Regions from separate parts of the Homo sapiens genome. Here regions 2, 3, 4 and 5 are each linked to region 1. The links are contacts of gene promoters, found by promoter capture Hi-C in blood cells and fetal thymus (Javierre and others, 2016). All regions are on one chromosome and are shown on one strand. Each heading gives the region's core, a stretch centred on a gene start or on the middle of the fragment in contact. The rest is flanking DNA. Distances are from core to core; before and after follow the strand shown.

Region 1 (2,949 bases), core at 158-2,657:
CTCTGCATGCTCTCTGCACAATGCATGCTATTTTAAAACATGATTTATGGGTCTAATTCCTGGAGCTGCCTTGAAAAATATAGTGGGTTGTTCCTCCCATGCTCCCTATTAGGAGAAGACACTCCAATTTGAAGAGTGCACTCTGTTTCAGACTTCAGGCCGCTATATCATGTCAGCATTTTCAGTAAATACTGTTCAATTGGACTTTAAACAAATGGAATGGAGGGCCACAGCTGCAGCCACTGCAGAGATAAAGTTATCCAGCCGGGAGGCTTACATAAGAGGTGCAGGACAATCAGGGTGAAATCCAAGTGTCATTATCTGAATCCTATTTCTTGAGACTTGCCTACATTCTTAAAGTGTATGAATTCACACGCCCAGAGCTCGTTTTATTTGCCTTAGGGCATAAAACACCGGGTCGACATATAAGTTGTTTTTTCCCTAAAGGACTAGGCTCCAATTATGAAAAGGTTGGCAACTTCTGCCTAGGGGAAGAGTAAAGCGGGATGCGCGGGAAGCCTGCAGGCCTGAAAGAAATGGCTCGCCCAAAGATCCATCGCAGTGCTGGCCACACTCCCCAGAGGAATTAGGATGGAGGTGACAAGACCCTGCCCAGCCCCTTCACCCCAACGTAAACACAGAGTCAAGGAGCTTGGAATGAATAATTAGCACGCAGCAGTCGAAATGCCCTAGGAGTACCTGTCCTCTCCCAGCATATTTCCAACTGGCACATTCGTGAGATGCTGAGGTCAGCCAGCCCTGGACTCCAGACCTTCCAGCTGCCTTGTCCCCTTCTTGGCACCCCGCACTCCCTCCTCGAGCTGGAACTCTGTTAACAAGAGGTGCCACCCTCGGCTTCCCACAAGAAGATAAAAACGAACCTCTCCTTCCCACGGCTCCCTCCAACTTCAGAAACTACAGTCAACTTACTGGGACTCAGGAGGCAGGGAGTCTTCCTGGCGGACGGCGCTCGGAGGCAGCCTCTGCAAACTCCGGCGCGCAGCGCCGCCGCCCCGGCACAGCCCGGCAGCAGCGGCAAGTGCAGGACCAGGCGCCGCCGCTCTGCACCAGTCGCCTTGGCTCAGCTGTGCCGGGCGCCGGGCATTCGCCAGGGCACACGACTCAGCGAGGCGGCGGCTGGGACTGAGGCTACTGCACCCGGCCGCGCGGACCCGAGCGCTGCAGCTGCCTCCAGCCCCGGAGCGCGGCGCTCCGAGCCCCTGGTGGGTGTCTCTGGCTCCAAGGGAATCACGGCTCAATTAGGGACCTGCCAGGAGAAAAACCGATGCGCTGCCGCAGGCAGAGCCGCCAGCCCGCCCCCAGTCGGCTGGTCACATCGCGGGCGCGCAGACGGACAAGCGAGCGGGAGGGTACCGCAGCCAGCACTCGCCGCCGCGCCGCGGAGAATGACAGGCGCCGAGGCGGAGCAGCCGCGCGGGGAGCGGGGCGCGAGTGCGCATGATCCTGGCCGCAGCGGCACGTCACGGGGGAGGAGGGGCGGGCCGCGGGGCGGGAGGGGGCGAGCCGGGCGGGGCCGGGCTGGGGGTGCACACGGGTGAGGACCGGCGCGGGGCCTGGCTTGCTCGCGGGAGGATGCAGGAAGTCTTCCCTGCCCTGATTTTATGAACCCAAAGCTCTGTGGTTGAACTTGTCCCAGGAGCCCATTGTCCTTTAAACAGCACCGTTTAAGCGGTCCTTAAGGTCCCTGGGGAGCCCACAAAAGCCAATTTAATTCAGGTTACAGCTTAACCGTAAAGGGTTGCCATTTGGGGGACAGTGATCTTCTATTGTGGCTGTGCATTAAAATAACTTGGGGAGCTTGTAAGAACCCTTTGCCCCGGACGCATCCCAGAACAAGTACAGGACAATGTCTGGGTGGGGCCCACCCAGGTATCAGTAGGTATCTAAAGATACCAAGGTACAGCAGTGCTTCTCAAACCCTCAGTGTGTGACAGAATCTCCTGCGGATTGTGATGAGATGCAAGATTCAGATTCAGTAGGCCTGGGATAATGAGGGAGACATCCTTTCTAACAAGCTCTCGGAGGATGCCAATACTGGAGGTCCAGACCCCCATCCTTGCTACTTAACGTGTGATCTAGAGCCTGGAGCAGAGCTTCTGAAACAGTTGGCCTGTCTGACAGTCACCCGAGGGGCTTATAAAAAACGCAGAACAAATGCCCAGGCCGTACCCCCAGTGATAGTGGTTCTGGCTCAGCCCCTGGCAAAGGTGGGCTTCTAGAATTCCATTTGGCATCAACACTCTAAATAAATCTGATAGGGGTTTTGTTTGGGCCAAACTTCAAGTTTACACTAGCAACCTGGAATTGGGAATAAACTTTTGCACTTACAAGGAGACAAACCAAGTCTAGAACTCAGGACATCTGACTTTGAGTCAGGGATTCTAAACCAACGGGTGCTTTATCTGACTAGTCCCAATTTTCTAAAATTATGATGCATTACTTAGCAAGAAAAAACATATAAATGGCATTAAATATACACACACACACTCTATTGAACACTCGTTACACATATCATTAATGGGAGCTTAAAGGTGGCTGGGGAAGAAGGCTCATCAGGAGAGGGTAAGGAAGACAGTGATGGAGTAAGGGATGTTGTTAGTGTGTCGCAGAGGGAAGGGTATGTGGGAGGAAACAGTTTAGACTCAGCCTACAGCTTGGAAAAGCCCATTGGGGAAGCGGACCCAGGAACCAGACTTGGCCTCTTGCTTCAGAGCATGGTATGAAACTCAGGTGTTTAAGAACTTATGGAGTATAACATTTCACATACGTTACCTCACTGAAATTTCACAGTGGTCTCTTAAGTTGAATAATAATATAAAAAAGTATCCCCATTTTATATATTAAAGAAGACATCCTGGACATGAGTTGACTAATGGTGGAACTTGAATAAAAGTAGGGATCTCCGTGTTGGACTTGGCTTCTACAACT
Region 2 (2,949 bases), core at 324-2,823, 970 kb before region 1:
CCACGAGTTCAATGCTGCAGTGAGTCATGATTGTGCTACTGCACTCCAGCCTGAGCGACAGAATGAGACCCCGTCTCTTTTCTTTTTTTTTTCTTTTTTTTGAGACAGAGTTTCACTCTTGTTGCCCAGGCTGGAGTGCAATGGCACGATCTTGGCTCACTGCAACCTCGCCTCCCAGGTTCAAGCAATTCTCCTGCCTCAGCCTCCCAAGTTGCTGGGATTACAGACATGCGCCACCACGCCCGGCTAATTTTGTATTTTTTGTAGAGATGGGGTTTCTCCATGTTGGTCAGGCTGGTGGTGAACTCCCGACCTCAGGTGATCCGCTCGCCTCAGCCTCCCAAAGTGCTGAGATAACAGGCATGAGCCACCGCGCCTGACCATGAGACCCTGTCTCTAATTATTTCTCAGTAGAAGTCTGCGTTAAAAGGTACCTGTGTTTGACAATAAGAGGCCAAGTGACAGAATCTTCCAACTGAAATCTGATTTCATAAAATCCAAGAGGAAGAGAATTTGAATGCCCTCTTAGGAGGAAAATGGGGTTCATATCATTTAGTCGTCTCCTTCGGCAGGTGCTGGAACACAACTCAAAGTGGCTTATGGTTTGCAATTATAAATCTGGGAAGAGATTAGATACATTATATCTGAGTACAGGACTATATGCATCTAGGGAGTTGAAAACATAGTCCTCATAGAGCTTTATCAAAAAGAAAAAGAATATGCAAATAAAAAACTAAAACTGAATCCAAAAAGGTAGCTGAACACCACACTCTCAAATGTTGTAACCAGACTTTTGACAACTGCTCAGATCCAGGCCTGGGTTCTACCATCTTGCCTCAGCTCATTTTTGGCTTTGGTTCCTAATTGAGCTCTTCACCTCGCTATTTAAGGACACTGGCTCTCTGAACATTGAGAACCTGTGGCTCACCGCATCCTCCCCTCCCCACCTTAGGCTCATCCTGTCATCAGACGGCTTCCTGATTTACAAGGCCAAGGTAACCAAAATTTGGACCATAAAATATTAGTATTCTCAACTTTCAAACACGAGCCAACCAGATGACCTGTTTCCAGGATCATGGCAGCCCCTCCGACCCAGAGCCTCTCCTGCTAGTGGGGTCTTCTTCCTCCAGTGCCTCCACTGACAAAGGAGCCACCGTCTCAGCCACCCCATGAGTCTGCCTCCCGTGAGATTTCTACAACTGACACTGCAGCCCCCACTTCCACTCTCATCTATTTGTGCCACTTGGATTATTTCAACTATATTATTCAACACTCAGCCACCTGTATTTACTGAATGGCTGCTCTGCCTAAGACACTGGCAGGGAGGGGAGAAAATAAGGGTATTTTTACAGTAACAATTAGGACAGTGTTTTGTTTCTAATAGCAGCTTGAGAAATAATTCGCATACTATAAAATCCACTATTTTTTTATAAAGAGTATGGTTCACTGGTTTTTAGTATATTCACAGAGTTATGCAAACATCACCGCAATCTAATTTTCATACCCCAAAAAGAAACCCACATCCATCAGCAGCCTAGGCTAGTATTTTTATGAAAAAAAAAATTTTTTCAGAGTTTCAGACTTGCAAACTTTTAAAACATTTAAAATTATAAACTGTCCAGGTTATCCAAAGACTGTACAGTATATGGTCCAGATTAATACAGTTAATAATTACCCACTCTGGGGCATATGCAACTTCAAGGGCAGAGGTAAAGATTTGCCTTGGGGAAAAATTCAGCACAACCATGAAAATAACAAGTAGCAATAAACGGGGGGTGGGGGTGAGGGCGGGGAAGGGGTTGCATTTGGATAGCGCCTCCCAATGCACTTGAACACTATAGCTAACAATACTGCATTATACACTTAAAAATTTGTTAAGAGGTTAGATCTCATGTTAAGTGTATTATCAAAATCAAATAAAATACAACGGCGTTTTTCAATCCTCCTAACCATCTTGACAGGAATACAAGACATTTACAAATGGGGAGCCTGATGTTCGGGGGATGGATGCCTGACTCCCAGTCACCCAGCTAGGGGACCCCACCCGGCTCTTCTGATTATCTGGCAGAAGTGAGCAAAACAGCTCAATCCAGCAGGCTCCATGTTAGCAGTAAGCAACTCTAATTTCATATCTGACTGAAAAAAGAAAAGAAGCCTATTTATGCTCTCAACATAATAAAGCAGCCTTTGTTTTATGCTAAGGCCCTGGTGATTTTTTCAGCACCAGTCCAGCTGTGACACACAGACGCTGGTTCGATGCCTGCATAAATGCTTTCTCTTTGTTTAGTGGTGAGAACGTGAGACCTCACTAAGGCCCAAGTCCTGGGTTCTCCTGATGTCAACCCCACAAGTGAGTAGTGGAGCCTCACTGGCAAGGAGACCTACCTGTGCCTTTCCCAAATGCCTGGGAAGGTAGGTTAGAGTTAGAATCTTTTAATTAAAATGAGGTAAAATTCTAATTACTCCACAGTTGTCTCCAGAATAACATCATTTCCAACTCATCAAGTCTTATTAGAACCGGAACCACTGGGAACACCAGCTCCACCTTGTTAACTAAAGAAAACAGCTCGCTTTTTCCAGGAACATTAACTCTTTTTTCAGACATAAAGTAGTATTTAATGGTTTTGCTTATTAGTCTCCAAGCCATTAATGACCTGAAAGAGATTAAACAACTTTTGAAAAGTAATCCATTGTAAGTAACAACGGTTAAGGCTTCCTTGTAGCTACGAAAAACACCCAGAGTGCAGGACACTCACTTAAAATTAACACTGACTTGGATGCACACCACACACAAACAAATACAACTCCCACATGTAATCTATTTTTATATGAATTGGTTGAAGGTGGTAACAAATTCTAAACAATATGATGTACGTAAAAGGGTTAGCTGCACCGCACTCTAGGAAACTATTGCACCAGCTTCTACTCCTGCACCACTTAGCAACAGGA
Region 3 (2,949 bases), core at 216-2,715, 930 kb before region 1:
AAATATCCTAAACATGAGACAAAAATAGTTTGCTCTATAAAAAAATGGAGCATTCAGAGAAAAACCAGTTGTTAGAAATTATATTATAGCAGACATTAAAACTCCTGTGGTAGGTATCATTTGGGATAAAGATCTCCAAGGATGTCTGTGTCCTAATCCCAGAACCTTTGGCAAAAAGGGACTTTACAGACTTGATAAAGGTTAGAGATCTTGAGAGAGGAAGATTATCCTGGATTATCAGATGGACCCACTCTAATAACATGTGCTCTTTTGTTTTTGTTTTTTGAGACAGGGTCCCACTCTGTCACCAAGGCTGGAATGTAGTGGCATGATCTTGGCTAACTGCAGCCTCGACTTCCAGGATTCAAAAAAATCCTCCCACCTCAGCCTCCCAGGTAGCTGGGACTACAGATGAGCACCACCACACCCAGCTAATTTTCATATGTTTTTGTAGAGACGGGGTTTTGTCACGTTGCCCAGACTGATCTTAAACTCCTGAGCTTAAGTGATCTGCTCACCTTGGCCTCCCAAAGTGCTGGGATTACAGGTGTGTGCCCCTGCACCCCACCTACATGTGCTCTTAAGAGCTGAGAATCTTGTGACTGAGAGATGCCACAACAGAAAAAGAGGCAGGAGAGTTTCGAAAGCATGAGAGGACTTGACCCACTCTTGCTGGCTTTGAAGATGGAGAAAAGGGGACCATGGGCCAAGGAGTACGGGTGACCTCTATAAGCTGAATGAGCCCTTAGTTGACCACCATCAAGAAAACAGGACCTTAGCATACAATCATGCGACACCGAATTGCAACAACCTGAATATGCAAGAAACAAATTTTTCTCAAGAGCCTCTAGAAAGAACATACCTTGTTAGTCCTAGATACCTTGACATTAGTCCTGTGAGGCTCATGTTAGACTCCTGATCCTCAGAACCATAAGTTAATACCTCTGTGCTACTTTAAGCCACTCCATGGTTGGTTTGGAGTATAAAGTAAATTTTCTAGAGAGAAGACCAAAAAACAAAGGTATGAAAAATAAAGGGGAACATATAAGAAAATCAGAAGACTGATCCCAGAGGTCTAACATCCAAAAAAGAGGCCAAGAGAAAGACATGGAAGAAACAGAAAAAAAGAAGGAATCAGTGAAATAATTCAGGGAATTTCCCCAGACTGAAGGATTTCCAGATTGAAAGGGCTCACTGAGAACACGGCACAAATTTATAAAGTTCAGAACACTGGAGATAAAGACCCCACAAGTTCTAGAGATGGAAAAAAAATGGTCACATTCAAAGTAAAAGGAATAACAATGGGTTTGGAGTCATGGACAACAAAACTAGAAGACAATGGAGGATTAGGCTTAATTTACTGAAGAAAAGTGATTTCTACCTTATTTTCTTCTTAGATTGAAAAGACAGAATGGGAGCAGGTAAGAAAGTTAGGAATGAGTAATACTGAGGGGTGAATAGAAAGGATGAATCCTCATCATTCATAGTGGAAAACTGGTGGATAATGCCGAAAACTGGAATTATCAATATATGCAAGTTATTTAAAAAAAAAAAAAAAAAAAACTAGGCCAGGTGTGGTGGCTCATGCCTGTAATCCCAGCACTTTGGGAGGCCAAGGAGGACAGATCACTTGAGGTCAGGAATTCAAGACCAGCCTGAACAACATAATGAAATCCAATCTCTATTAAAAATACAAAAATTAGCCAGGTGTGGTGGTGGGAGCCTGTAATCCCATCTACTCTGGAGGCTGAGGCAGGAGAATGGCTTGAACCAGGGAGGCAGAGGTTGCAGTGAGCCGAGATCGCGCCACTGCACTCCAGCCTGGGCGACAGAGCCTAGACTCTTTCAAAAACAAACAAACAGAAAACCTAAATGATTTTGATTTGAAAGTGGTTGCCTTCAAGGAGGAAAATGCAAAGGGTAAGAGGGTGGACTGCTGGGTTTTTCTGTTTTGTTTTTTGCTTTTTTGCAAAAATCCTTGTTTGCCTCTTTAAAATATGTACATGTTTAACTATAAAAAACTAAAAACTGGAAAGTAAAAATAAAAAGACTGATAAATTAGTGAGACAATAAGCTAAAAAAACAAATTAGGTTGCATGAATATACTAGGTAGCACAAACTTTTTTTTAGGGAGAAGTTATTTGCTATTTCCCTGAATCCTTGAAGTAGCCATGAAATCTCTGTGTTTGTTCTTTGAAGAGAGCTCTCAAGCCCCACACATTTCCAGTGAAATATAAGGACCCTTACTGACACTATTTCCAATTTTCCTTTCAGCTCTGAAAATCTATGGTGCGTAGGAAGATGGACAAAACATTCTTCGTGATGAGAAAGCAAAGCAGATTGTGATCACATTTTTGGAAAAAATAGATTTGCATATTCGATCTTATGCACAGAAAGATATCTGGCAAGACATTGACAAATGTTAATAATAGTTACTTCTTGATGATAGGCCCAGATTATTTTTATTATCCTCTTTAGTTTGTTCTTGATATTTTTTTAACACTGAGCTTATCATATTAACAGTAATCTACATTGTTTAATAGGTACGGGCTGAGCATGGTGGCTCATGCCCATAATCCCAACACTTTGGGAGGCCGAGGCGAGTAGATTGCTTGAACCCAGGAGTCCGAGACCAATCTGGGCAACATGGTGAAACCCTATGTCTACAAAAAATACAAAAAGTAGTTGGGTGTGGTGGCGCATGCCTGCAGTCCCAGGTACTTGTGGGGTTGAGGCGAGAGGATTGCTTGAGCCCCGGGAGGTCAAGGCTGCCGTGAACCATGATTGCCCCACTGCACTCCAGCCTGGGCAACAGAGTATAAGAACCTGTCTCAAAAAAAAAAAAAAAAAAAAAAAAAAAAAAAAAAAAACACACACACAAAAAAGAAAGAAAGAAAAGAAACAGGTACAGAGTTTCAGTTGGGATGATGAAAAAGTTCTGGAGTTCTG
Region 4 (2,949 bases), core at 239-2,738, 620 kb before region 1:
AGATCTCAGCTTTCTGCAATTAACTAGCTTTGTGAGCTTGGGCAATAGAGTGAAATGGAACTAACAGCTCCTGGTTTTCCGTGTGCCAAACACATTTATTCTGCAAAGTATTTATTTTTTGTTCCCATTTTACAGAAGAGGAATCTAAAGCCTTAAAGGGTTAAGTAACATTCCTGAAGTTATGTAGTAAGATGATGGAGTTGCAAGGGACTTGTGAAAATGAAAGTTTAATTTTCCAAATAGGGCTATGTTGGTTACTTAGAAAATTTTAAATGGGATGAATTTTCTTAATCGGCTGTGGACCAATTCCTCTTTATCAGCATAGTCTCTCCCTGTAGGCAAATCTGAATGGGAATGCAAATTATAATTAGCTCCTTTAGTGAACCTGAAATCAGAAGAAGGGGCATTAATTGGATAACCTTAAGGTAGCCTCAGCTTGAGTGTATTCTTCTCCTCTGGGTATGTATCTGCGTCTTGGAATTCCTAGGAAAAACCTTTCTAAACTTGACCCGAACTACGACTCTCTTCCTCATCACTCCTTTAAATTCCCCCATCAATGTAATCTGCAGGCCATCTCCTTTCTTTGGGACATTCTATACAATATACATATATTAAGGGCTACAGTTTTAGTAAGTCCTGTGTGTCCTAAGGTTATATATTGGTCTCCTTGATTGGATTTTGGGTGTTTTCACTTTGAATTGATCTTAATCATTTATTACTTTCATTATAACTAATCTTGAGGGGATATCTTGTTATCAACCCCCCAGGTACCACCTATATAAATACCTGTTTGTCTTAACATGAGTAACATGAGTAACAGGTTCCTGATCTCTTTTGGGCAGAGTGCAATCATTTTGTTTTTCGTTTTTCTTCAGTCTCCAATTACCTATAGGAGGCAGTATAACACAACACGTAATGTAAGCGCCTACTTGGGCTTAAGGTCAGAGGACTTTGCTCTTAAATCTCTACTTTTTAGGCAGGCAAATTAGTTAACTTCTAGTTTCGTTATGTATGCAAAGTATATGTGCCAGCATAAAACCACTTAGTGCCGTTATTTATTATCATTATTACCTTTTTGTTTTGTTTTTTTGAGACAGTGACTCTATTGCCCAGGCTGGAGTGCAGTGGTGAGATAAAGGCTCACTGCAGCCTCCTGGGCTCAGGCATCCTCCCGAGTAGCTAGAACTACAGGTGCGCGCCACCATTCCTGGCTAATTTTTAAGTTTTTTGTTGAAACGGGAGTCTCGCTATGTTGCCCAGGCTGGTCTCAACCTTTTGGGCTCAAGCAATTCTCCCACCTTGACCTCCCCAAAATGCTGGGATTACAGGTGTGAGCCACTGAGCCTGGCCGTTATTACTCATTTTGATCACCAATCAGTTCTCCTTTTTATACCTTCAGAGACTTTGTGGCCATCAGGTTCTTTGAACATTCTGAGCCTATTTCTCATACATGCAGTTTTTCTCAGCTTCACAAAGACACTCTTAATATCTTGTCTTAAAAACATGGAAATGAGAGTTTTAGAATTCTTTAGGCAAGAAATCACTTTGAGTCTAGGAGTACTAAACTCCTATTTTCCCAATTATTTCTCAAAGAGTCCCGTTTCTGAGAGGAATTTGGCCACATCTTAACACAGTCATGTACTGCATGACGTTCTCAAGGATGGACTGCATTTATGATAATGGTCCCATAAGATTATAGCGGAGCTGAAAAATTACTATCGCCTGGTGATAGCGTAAAGTTGTAGCGTACTTTGTTTTGTAATCCCAGCACTTTGCGGGGCCGAGGTGGGTGAATCACTTGAGGTCAGGAGTTCGAGACCAGCCTGACCAACATGGTGAGACCCTGTCTGTACTTAGTGTAGCCTAAGTGTACGGTGCTCATAAAATCTACAGCAGTGTATGGTAATGTCCTAGGCCTTTCATTCAGTCACCACTCACTGACTCACCCAGAGCAGCTTCCAGGTATGCCAGCTCTGTTCATGGTGAGTGCCCTATAAGGTGTGCCATATTTTTACTGTACCTTTTTCATGTTTAGATAGATTAGATACACAAATACTATTGTGTTACAGTTGCCTAAAGTATTCCTTACAGTAACATAGTGTACAGATTTGTAGTCTGGGAGCAATAGGCCCAACCATATAGCCTAGGTGTGTAGTAGGTTATACCATCTAGGTTTGTGTACGCTAAGGCACAGTGACAAAATCGATGCATCTCTCAGATCATATCCCTCTCGTTAAGTGATGCATAACTGTATGTCATGAAAGGTTACTTTCCTCTAAGTAAGAAAAGTATCTTTTTGTTAATCCCTTGGTAGTTACCAAAAAGTTAATCCTTCTGTTAATTGGACCTTGGTTATTGTGGACTGTTCATGGGAAAGTCTTTTAAAACATGCTTTCTGAGTCTGTGTTTTGAGCCTTCTATTTCCGAGGTGTCCCTGTATTTATAAGGATGTGAGGGACAATTAATAGTTTAATTTTGAGTAACAATTGACTACATCGTCAGAGTCAGGTTTAATGATTAGCTCATTCAGTATCTGACCATTTGGCCCAGAAGACTTTAAAATTCCTTAATAACAGTGATTACCAGTTATTCTTGGTTTAGACCACTTTCTACCTAATTGTGAAATTTTCATAGCCTAAATCACACATCCTGTCAACTCTTCCTGGGAGAAACATGCATCCAAATGTATTATTGTTGTAAATTTAGTTAACCTTTACAGAAACTAAGTAATGAATTCAGACCAGTGATCTGATTGAAATTTCCAGTTGGAATATATTGATGTCAGTAGCTGAGCAAACAAAAGAATGTAAGGCAGATCTATCAGCCTAATTTGTTTATGGCAGAAATAAGGGCGGAAGGTTGGTTGGTTGGTTACTTGGTTGGTTTTTAACACTTTAGGAAGAAAGTCTGAAAGACCTTTCACTGAGGAAAAATCGATTAGAGTTGAGC
Region 5 (2,949 bases), core at 285-2,784, 550 kb after region 1:
ATGCAAAATTTTTTAAATCAGTGAAACAAACATTATGTCAATTCTTGCAAACCTAGACATAGTAAAATAAGAAACAAGTTCCAAATTTTTGACCTGGACAAAGAGAATTTAAACCAAGCATATCATACATCCAAAACACATATCCATTGATGAGTCACCAAATCTGGGGAAAAGCAACTGGGATTGACTATGAGGCTGCCTTAATTAATCTTCGTCGTCTCGTTGCAAAGGTATAACCTGAATTTCTTTAGCTATCCTTTCTGCTAATATTCTATTATTTGCAGCAATTACTCTTCGTGACATCAAATCAAATGGTCCACCTAAAAGCAAACAAGTATGAAAAATAATTTTATCTGGTACAAAAATAATTCATATAAAACAAGTATAGCAATATGTACTATGGTCACATAACATTTTAATACTTTCAGTTTTCTTAAACAAAAATCTACTGTTACATTTCTACAATGTATAAGCTTAGACAATATATAACTGTTTCTAAGCATAATTTTTGAGTAAATAATGAAGTCATACCAGTTAGAAAATGTCATATTTTCTCTATTTTTGTGCATTCTTATTACCTCTTTATTGTTTAAGAATCTATGGACAGAAAATGTGAATCCAATGCATTTTCATACCACTGTCCTTCCCATTTCCTTATTTCTTTGTTGCCTTTCTCCCAGATCACTGGTGAATTCTTTCAGCACAGATTCACCCTTCGGTTTAAAATTTTCACCATCAGTTGAAAGCAATTATTTAACTTCTCTAGTCTCAACACAGAAAGTGATGGTGGAGGAAGTCCATCATCAACTATCACCATTGTCACCATTCAAAGAGCTCTGGGTATAAGCCTCAGACTCGGTGACTGTCTAGGCCAAGGGTGTCGAATATTTTGGCTTCCCTGGGCCACACTGGAAGAATAAGAATTGTCTTGGGCCACACATAAAATACACTAGCACTAATGACGGCTGATGAGCTAAAAAAAATTTTTTTAATCGCAAAAAACTCATTATGTTTTAAGAAAGTTTACAAAGTTGTGTTGGGCCACATTCAAAGCCATCCTGAGCCACATGTGGCCCATGGACTGCAGGTTGGACAAACTTGGTCTAGGCTTTTTCTACAGCCTTTCAGGAGTACCTGAAACTCACACTAGAAAAGGATTAGCCATTTATCATTGTAAGTCTCACATTACCATTACCTCTTATCCTTACCTCTATCTCCTAAAGCTTATTTTGATTTTGCACACAATTATATAGCTTGTTTCTGCTTCAAAAACTGCAGTATAACATATATCAAAAAGTTTTTTAAATTCTACATATGGACAAAAGTCCAACAGATGTGTGGAGATCTGCTTCACTCTCCATAATTTTACCTGTAACATCCATTAGCACGCCACCAGCTTCAGTAACAATAATGCCAGCTCCTGCAACATCCCAGCAGTGAATTCCCATTTCATAATATGCATCTGCTCCGCCAGTTGCCACAAGGCACATATTAACAGCTGCTGTTCCAACACTCCGGATCCTAACAAATAGAATTTAGAAATAAAATTGGAAAAAATAATCCTTTCAAGTAAGATATTCCTCCTTAACTTCACTTTAAGTGTCGATTGAAGAAACTTGGAACGATCTAGAGGATAAAGATTTTAAGAGGTGATATCTAATTGTAAAATAAAAATATGTATAAATCTAATTATCATCGTATATTATATAAATCACAAAACCCTCACAAAGCAATAATTTAATAAGATAAACATTAAAACAATAATTTTTCATAAAAAATAAAGACAATGCTTAATTCTACAATAATGAAATGCAAGTATATTAATATTTGTCTAAATCCAGCTACTAAAGCTTATATTATTTTACACACATATACACATACCCACAATGCAAATAGTCTCTAGGAGGTGTAAAATATCATGGTATGGGTCATTTTCAACTGGGTGTGCGTCATACATGTGCCTAAAGCAACAACAGCATGCCAGGCTCTGCAAAGACCTAAGCCTGCCTTGGAAAATTACTGCAGGTTTGCCCTCTCATAGCACCTCTTCCTTGAATACAAGTTAAGTTGAATATAAATACACTTGATAGCAATTATAGTAATAATTTATTCAGTAAAGAATCAATGTTAAAATTAATGGGTGAGTCTGATAATTTACAGAGTGTCAAAGTGTCTCTCCACAAGATACATAATAAGTACAATGGAAAAATAGCATCTTTACAATGGTCTACCATTACCAAGTTATCCAAGTTAATATCACTCATAATGGGACAAAAAGAAATGTGCCTGATAAAATGCACTGAGAAGGACAGAACATTACTTTTGCGGCATTCCTGCCAAAAATCCATGATCCAAATATAATCATGAGGAAACCAGACAAATTCAAATTCAAGAGACAGACTACAAAATAATTGGCCTATACTTCTGAAAAATGTCAAGGTGATAAAAGACAAAGACTAAGCAAGTTCTAAATTAAAGGAAATTGATGAGAAATGACAACTAAATGCAATACATGACTCTAGACTGGATGTTGGATTAAAATTTTCAAAATTTGAATAAAGTCTTATATTAGATTATGTATCCATGTTAATTCCCTTACTTTTATCATTGTACTGTGGCTATGTTAGACAATGTCCCTTTTATTAAAGACACACACGCTGAAATGTGTATTTAGAAGACAAACGTCATCATGTCTACAAGTTACTTTCAAGTGGTTTTTACACAAATTCCTTCTCCAACTGTTTAAAGCGATGGTAATAAGGGAGTGAGTTCTGTTCAATGAGATCTTTCACAGTTTATTTATTTAAAAACATGGAAAACTGATGACTAATGTGGCATTTGTTTTATATCTCAAAAATAAAAATAAAAAAATTGCACCTAAGTACATCCTTTATGCCAAATAAATTTTAAAAAGGATTAGAATAACATGATGTCATTGATTTGGCATGT

The links. The method cuts DNA at HindIII sites, captures the fragments that hold promoters and counts their contacts. A CHiCAGO score of 5 or more calls a contact.
Region 2: a contact is called between a fragment that was not itself captured here and the fragment with the promoter of PAG1 in region 1, in 1 of 17 cell types (non-activated CD4 T cells). The highest score is 5.9, in non-activated CD4 T cells.
Region 3: a contact is called between a fragment that was not itself captured here and the fragment with the promoter of PAG1 in region 1, in 1 of 17 cell types (total B cells). The highest score is 5.4, in total B cells.
Region 4: a contact is called between a fragment that was not itself captured here and the fragment with the promoter of PAG1 in region 1, in 8 of 17 cell types (fetal thymus, activated CD4 T cells, naive CD8 T cells and 5 more). The highest score is 12.7, in fetal thymus.
Region 5: a contact is called between a fragment that was not itself captured here and the fragment with the promoter of PAG1 in region 1, in 1 of 17 cell types (M2 macrophages). The highest score is 5.0, in M2 macrophages.

The regions. Positions count from the first base shown.
Region 1 is chr8:81,110,661-81,113,609 of GRCh38, forward strand. It overlaps PAG1 (phosphoprotein membrane anchor with glycosphingolipid microdomains 1), which reads right to left and starts at 1,408. Exons shown (of 9, transcript NM_018440.4): 1 at 931-1,408. RefSeq lists an enhancer at 854-923 and a silencer at 1,414-1,543. The HindIII fragment of the contact is 5,316 bases long and covers 1-2,949 here.
Region 2 is chr8:80,137,861-80,140,809 of GRCh38, forward strand. The region is part of intron 1 of TPD52-MRPS28 (TPD52-MRPS28 readthrough); the gene reads right to left. The region is part of intron 1 of TPD52 (tumor protein D52); the gene reads right to left. Among named protein-coding and RNA genes, the nearest start is that of TPD52, 32 kb to the right of the region's middle. RefSeq lists an enhancer at 719-768. The HindIII fragment of the contact is 4,101 bases long and covers 1-2,949 here.
Region 3 is chr8:80,178,920-80,181,868 of GRCh38, forward strand. All of the region lies in intron 3 of LOC105375920 (a long non-coding RNA gene), which reads right to left. Among named protein-coding and RNA genes, the nearest start is that of TPD52-MRPS28, 8.8 kb to the left of the region's middle. The HindIII fragment of the contact is 5,996 bases long and covers 1-2,949 here.
Region 4 is chr8:80,489,188-80,492,136 of GRCh38, forward strand. The region is part of intron 1 of ZBTB10 (zinc finger and BTB domain containing 10); the gene reads left to right. Among named protein-coding and RNA genes, the nearest start is that of ZBTB10, 4.4 kb to the left of the region's middle. The HindIII fragment of the contact is 4,296 bases long and covers 1-2,949 here.
Region 5 is chr8:81,659,147-81,662,095 of GRCh38, forward strand. It overlaps IMPA1 (inositol monophosphatase 1), which reads right to left. Exons shown (of 9, transcript NM_005536.4): 8 at 1,370-1,521; 9 at 1-320. The coding sequence ends at 205. Among named protein-coding and RNA genes, the nearest start is that of IMPA1, 26 kb to the right of the region's middle. The HindIII fragment of the contact is 627 bases long and covers 1,222-1,848 here.